2 separate regions of the Homo sapiens genome follow, and region 1 is linked to region 2. The links are contacts of gene promoters, found by promoter capture Hi-C in human tissues and cell types (Jung and others, 2019). All regions are on one chromosome and are shown on one strand. The core of a region is centred on a gene start or on the middle of the fragment in contact, and the rest is flanking DNA. Distances in the headings are between cores, read along the strand shown. Region 1 has its middle 410 kb from the start of MIR5702. Region 2 holds the start of IRS1 (insulin receptor substrate 1).

The links. The method cuts DNA at HindIII sites, captures the fragments that hold promoters and counts their contacts. A contact is called where the count stands out against the background at its distance.
Region 1: a contact is called between a fragment that was not itself captured here and the fragment with the promoter of IRS1 in region 2, in 1 of the 25 tissues and cell types used here (heart left ventricle).

The regions. Positions count from the first base shown.
Region 1 is chr2:226,246,465-226,249,597 of GRCh38, forward strand. No RefSeq gene overlaps it. Among named protein-coding and RNA genes, the nearest start is that of MIR5702, 410 kb to the right of the region's middle. The HindIII fragment of the contact is 5,391 bases long and covers 1-3,133 here.
Region 2 is chr2:226,798,315-226,801,359 of GRCh38, forward strand. IRS1 (insulin receptor substrate 1) reads right to left here and starts at 1,506. Exons shown (of 2, transcript NM_005544.3): 1 at 1-1,506. The coding sequence starts at 424. It also overlaps a transcript of RHBDD1 not described here. RefSeq lists silencers at 325-374, 1,365-1,784, 1,805-1,874, 2,835-3,044. The HindIII fragment of the contact is 12,102 bases long and covers 1-3,045 here.

The sequences.
Region 1 (3,133 bases), core at 503-3,002, 550 kb before region 2:
CTTTGTAGCTCATTTTCCCTTCATGCAACTTTCTGTTCACCATTACTCTGTCATGGGAACTCTAGCTCCTTGTCCTCTCCTACCTTTCGATGCTGTCTCCAAAATGCAGGTAACCAATAGGTTTTTCTTGCACTCCCCTCCCTGGAAAATCTCAAGGCAGTACTGGGGCAGTTGCAGGACCTAGCTTGCTTACTTTATCTTTCTCTAATGTTACAGAACTTCATTGCCTGTATTCCAATATCTGAATACTTACATTATATATATATATATATATATTTAAGTTTTTTCCTAAACAACTAAAAATGTGCTTAATACTGGTGGATAAAACTGGTCTCTTTTACTTTTGCTATAAGAAGTACAGATGTTGACTTTAAAAATACCTTGCTGCATTCTGCAGAATCTATAATGTAGAAACTAAGGAGCTTTAACAATTGATTTCACACACCATTGCTGTGTAAAGAAAGCCACACACAAAAATTAGTTTCTTTTCTTAAAAACTTTTTGCACTGTCAAAAAATTTAGTAACCAAAAAACATTTGATTTAGTAAGTCTGTAAACATTCTTCATATTAAATGTCTGTTTGGATTTTCAGAGAATCTTTGGGTCCCCAGGCTTGAAATTTAAAAATGAGATTATGTGACTATTTGCAATTCAAATAAAATAATATTACTTACAGGAACAAAGTCTGAAATCATCTGAATTTAAGAAATTAAATGTAATCTTTTATGAGTGTAAGGCAATAAAATGATAGAATACAATTAGCTCAAATTTAAATACAAATATCATCTCTGCCTGCAAATCATTTACATATATGTCAATTTTTTTATGTGTACTCCCAAAAGATTCAGCATACACAATCAAGATAAGTCATTTAGGAGATGTTGGAAAACATACAGATGGACAAGTGTTTTTCTGGTACATTTCCTCACCTTTTGGTTAGTAGTTTTCAGAAAAACTGCTATATTAGGTTTGTCCACAGGGTGATTATGGAGTCTCATAAATTTTGTTTAGGGGGTTTTTAGTTGAGTTGTTCTGAGAAAAATTTGAGATGAATAAGTGAAGCCAAGCTCTGGAGAGGAAAAAAAGGCAATTTTATCCAAATCTGGCACATTCTGAAGGTGGCTTGGGTTGAAAGTGAATCTAGCATATGTATTTGGCTATGAGATGCTTCATGTCAACCTTTCCTTGCTCACACACAAACTTCTTTGATCTATCCTGAAAAGTCTGTTTATGCCAACATCCCATATTGCTATATATAAAGTTTTGCAGGAACTTCTGGTGAAAACATTACTCTAAATACAGTGGGTGCTGTGTTTACCTAGACATAGATATGTGAATTATGTTTGATGATTCAGTAGTAGGCAACATACCAGGTTCAGAACTAGATCAGAACAATCGTAAATTAGCTGTGCCCTATAAGCAAACAGAATGAATAAGTGAAAAATATCTATTAAAAAATTACTTACAAAACCAGAGGCCAACTTGGGAATCATACTATTGCAAAGAGCATTTATTTCAACTCAGAGAATTAAGAGCTGTGAGAACTACAAGAAATGCATTATGATAGTGAACCCTAGTTAATAATGTCATTCATAGCAGCCAAGGTTGACAAACAGAAGTTTGCCCTCAAGAAGTATTTGATAATATGTCTTCTGTGTTTTCCTGTTTCCTGGCTAGAACTGGATATTCAATATGACTAATGCTTCTTTCATTAAAAAAGAAAAAAGACAGACTTCGAAATATTTACTCACTTCTTCAAGAATGTAGAAAACACTTAATGATAACATTTCTGTTAGCTGCGGTGGCAGAATTATGTATTTACATCTAACACTTTTTTTCTGTATAACAGGGATTACTTAATTACAGAGTACTCATATCCAAGGAAATTAAAGTTATTTTAAAATCTGAAGAACATTTTGAAATTAAAGTTGTATTTACTGTTTCTGAAACATATATTAAATGTCAGAATTACCAACTTTTTAAGAATTGCATGTCTCATACACAATTTATATGTGTGTGTACGGATGTGTGTGTATAGTAATTTTACCTTTAAAAATGTAATGAACATATAACTTACAAGGCAAATTTTAAAAGACAGTGAACTGTTTAGTTCAAACAACTTAAGATCTGTTATGGCTATAATTACAACAGTGGAAAATTGGCAGTCTTTAAACTATGAACCTAACGTGAGTTGGTATAAATAATTACATGTTTATATAGCCCAATTGAACAAGGCTACTCTGGCAAAAGCCATTTCAAAATACAAAATTAAAAATTGAAACTATAAGTATACTCAAGCAACTATAGTAATTAAAATCCATGTTAATTACAAATGATCCAGAAATATTCTTGAAGAACAAACCTGTTGGACAACTACATGCCAATATATTTTTAGACATATATGGAGATAGTATTTGAAATCACAAGCATGTTTATAAGTCCTGGCTACTCTCTAAGTTTATGAGATTATACGGTATTATGGTCTATTATTATATTACAATATGTGCTAGTTAATTTTTATGTTACCATATGGATGTACTTTTTGTAGTGCTATAGAATTTACCAACCAGTTCCACATACATTTTCTTATTCAATTCCCTTAACAAGTCCACAAGCCAGCTTTTAACTTAGTTATTATTATGCCCTTTTCCAGTTGAGGAAACCTGAGCCTCTGAGGGGCTATGCATGCCTGACACAGATTGTTGGGTTACAAGTGGCAGAGGTTTGCTAGAATTCAGTCATCTAAACCTATTATTTAATTAATAAAATATTTCAGACAAAGTACATAATTATATTGTATGGTTTTTATTGTCTAAAAACAGTGTTTGTGAACTGAATAGTAAAGAGGAAAGATCCTGCTTTACGAGCAGTTTTAATGAAGGCCCTGTTAGAAGGAATTTATTCATAATTTTCTGGTTGTATTCATCATAACACAATCTGAAAACTGATCTGAATTATAAAACAAGCTTCTATTTTGTATGTGTTATGTATTTTTTGTTAAAAAATGTGCTGTTAAAAGTCAGACATTGCTTTTAATTTAGGTGTAAAGAAACAAAAATATCAATGGACAACCTCAGAAATAATCTAGAGTATTTTTTAAATGATGCCACTTTATATTCTGACACATCCAGCA
Region 2 (3,045 bases), core at 256-2,755:
GGCCGGAGCTGCCGCTGCAGCTGCCCCCACCACCTCCCGCCCCGAGGGCCGCAGCTCCGTCGTGGTGGCCCTTAGCACGGTTGTGCAGCTGTAGGAGAGCCTGGTACCAGCTGTCTTGCTCGGCCTCGCTGTCCGCCGCGATGGCAAAGTGCTCGTCCCGGGTGTAGAGAGCCACCAGGTGCTTGTTCTTGGAGTCAGCCCGCTTGTTGATGTTGAAGCAGCTCTCAAGGGGGATCGAGCGTTTGGGGGCGCTCGACTTGTGCCGCCACTTCTTCTCGTTCTCGTAGTACTCGAGGCGCGCCGGGCCCCCAGCCTCGCTGGCCGCGCGCAGTACGAAGAAGCGTTTGTGCATGCTCTTGGGTTTGCGCAGGTAGCCCACCTTGCGCACGTCCGAGAAGCCATCGCTCTCCGGAGGGCTCGCCATGCTGCCACCGCCACCACCAACGCTGAGCAGAGGGAGGCTCCGAAAAACAACCGGGTGGGGGGCGGAGGCTCCTCGCCGCGGCCCGGCACATGCAAACAGGGCTGGAGGCAGCAGAAACCCCGACTCTGAAATCCACGCCGCCCCCCGCGCCGGGGAGGGGCAGCTGAAGGAGGACGCAGCTGCTGAGCCCAGGAGAGAGCCCGACCGGAGTTTTCGGGCGCTTCACGCCCGGCGGGGAGGCAGTGCGTCCGGGGTGAGGGCAGCCCCGATCCTCCGAGAGCCAAGTCTCCTCTCAGCCGCCGCCGCCACCAGGAAGGAGCGAAGATGCATCTCTCGTCGCCCCGGCTGGAGTCCGGCACAGGGAGGCGACAGTCGGGGGTCCCTGCGGTGCCCCTCCAGGAGCGCGCGCGCGCGCGCGCCTTCCCTCCTGAGTTCCCCTCTGGAAGCAGCGATTCCCGAGGCAAATTAAATATCCTTGGGCAGGGGGAGGCGGGTTGCCAAGTCCCAACGTTGCACGGGGTTCTCCCTCCTCCTTCGCCTCCTCCCACCCCCCAACCGTCCCAGCCGCCACCAGCCGCCCAAATACCAGCTCAGTCGCAGAGACCGCGGCGCTGCGGCTGTTGCTGTTGCTGCTGCTGCTGCTGCTGCTGCTGCCGCCGCCCGCGGGCGCGTCCTCTGCAGCCCCCATCCGGGCCCATCTCGGCGGGTGGAGAAAGTGGCTTTTCCATGCGAAACGATACCGGGCAGCCACTGCAGCTGGGGACCGGCCGGAGGGACAGACTCATCCCTGCCCCTCGCTCCAGGCGGCTGGGGAGGAGGGGAGGGGACAAGGGCGAGAGGGGATGGGGGAGGTTTGGGAAGGGTTCGGGGAAGACGCCTGTTCCTCGGGAGGCGCTGCCGCTGCAGTTACTTCTCCCCTCCTCCCTCCTCCTCCTCCTCCTCGGAGAGTTGCCGAGAGCCCCAACCAAAACAAGCGGCGGCGTCTGGCTCTGCGCGCCGGCCCCCTCCGACCGCGCCGCCGTCTCACTCGGAGGAGAAAAACACGTGACGGAGCCTCCGCGCTCGGCAGCCGGGCAGCCGCCGCCGGGAGGCTCCCGCCCGGGTCTCTACATTCCGGGCCGAGCCCGCCCCGCGCCCGCCCCTCTCCGCCCCCCAGCCGTGCTGCAGCGGCGCCCGCGCCGACCCCGGCGCAGCGCTAGGACAGCGCCCCTGCGCGGCCGCCAGCTCCGGCGCAGCGCCTCCCTACACGCGCGCCAACCGGGGCGCCCCCGGCCCGCAGGAATCCCCGCGGCGGGCGCAGGCGGGGGTGTTTGGGTGGCTACCCGAAAGCACGAGGGGAGTCTGGGAAAACGGGAGGGGGCGAGCTCGGGAAGACGCAGGAGTGAGGGTGGGGGGCCACGGGGGGGCACTGCGGCTACAGAGCCCCGAGTGGGAGGCCGGGGGGAGGCGGGGGCGCCGGAGCTGGGCTGCCTCTTACCTATCAGGTAAGACTGACCCACGGGAGGGAGGTTTCTAGTCAAGGCTGTTTCCCCCAGGAAATTTAAAAGCTAGATTTCGGCTTCAGGGCGATAGGCCATGGTGAGGGGATCTGTATTTTTTAAGGTTTTTCTAAAGGACTTCTGGGCCAGCCTTCCACCTTGGGATCCCCAGATTTGCTGCCGTGAGGTACCTGGAAGGAACAGAGGGACGCCCAAGGGCAGTGACTGGGGGCAGTTATGGTCACTACAAAAGGAGAACAGGGATCCCCAGGAAGTGTCTCACGTCCGGCGCTGTGGAATTAGTTGCTGATCAAGTAGGGAGAAAATGTAAATATCACCTTTTCTCCTGCTCCCCTTGCCCATCCGTGTGACGGGGGGACTCACACCTAAGGCTGAGGGCATGGGGGAGGGGAAATGAGAGGTCCCTTATCATATTCCGAAGTCTATCCGTGACTTTAAAAAGCTGTTAGGGACCTTCAGAGGGTTCATAAGGCCAAAACCCTACTGTGCAAATATTGGCTGAAATGTTTGTTTCACACACAGCTCCCACACCCATTGAACCACCCTATAAGTTTTTAACCTTGACCACAAGGATAACAGGGAGAAAACAAGGATGGTGCCAGCTCAACTGTACAGGAAAATGGTTACTTCATGAGTGGACCAGATCAGCAGCCTGGGTCTACTTGAAGCGCCCCTTTCAGGGTCACCTTGCGGTATCAGTCTCCCCACAAACAAACGCTCCCCAGAGTTTTTTTATTTTTTAAGCCGACCTATAAACAAGCAGTTTGTCCCTGCTTGCTCGCCTGGCACTAAGGACCCACAGAGATGTCACTCGGTTTAATGCTGTCTCATTTTGATGCCTGGCCCGTTTGGGGTTGCCGCCCCTTTACTACGCCGGGACCCTCCTCGGCCTCAGGCTCCCAGGCACTGCAGGATGCTGGCTGGGCACTCAGCAGTCGAGGCGCTGGGCATGCTCAGTGGCTGGGACCCGGCGGGCCGCGGGGGAGCGCGCCTCGGCCCAATGCGGCTGAGGGGCGGAGCGAGTTTCCCGGGGAGGCCTGCTGATTGGTGGGATGGCCTGTTTTTCAAGCCTTGCACTGCAGAGGGAAGGTGGGGGTAGAAGGGTTGAGGGTACCAAGGTAG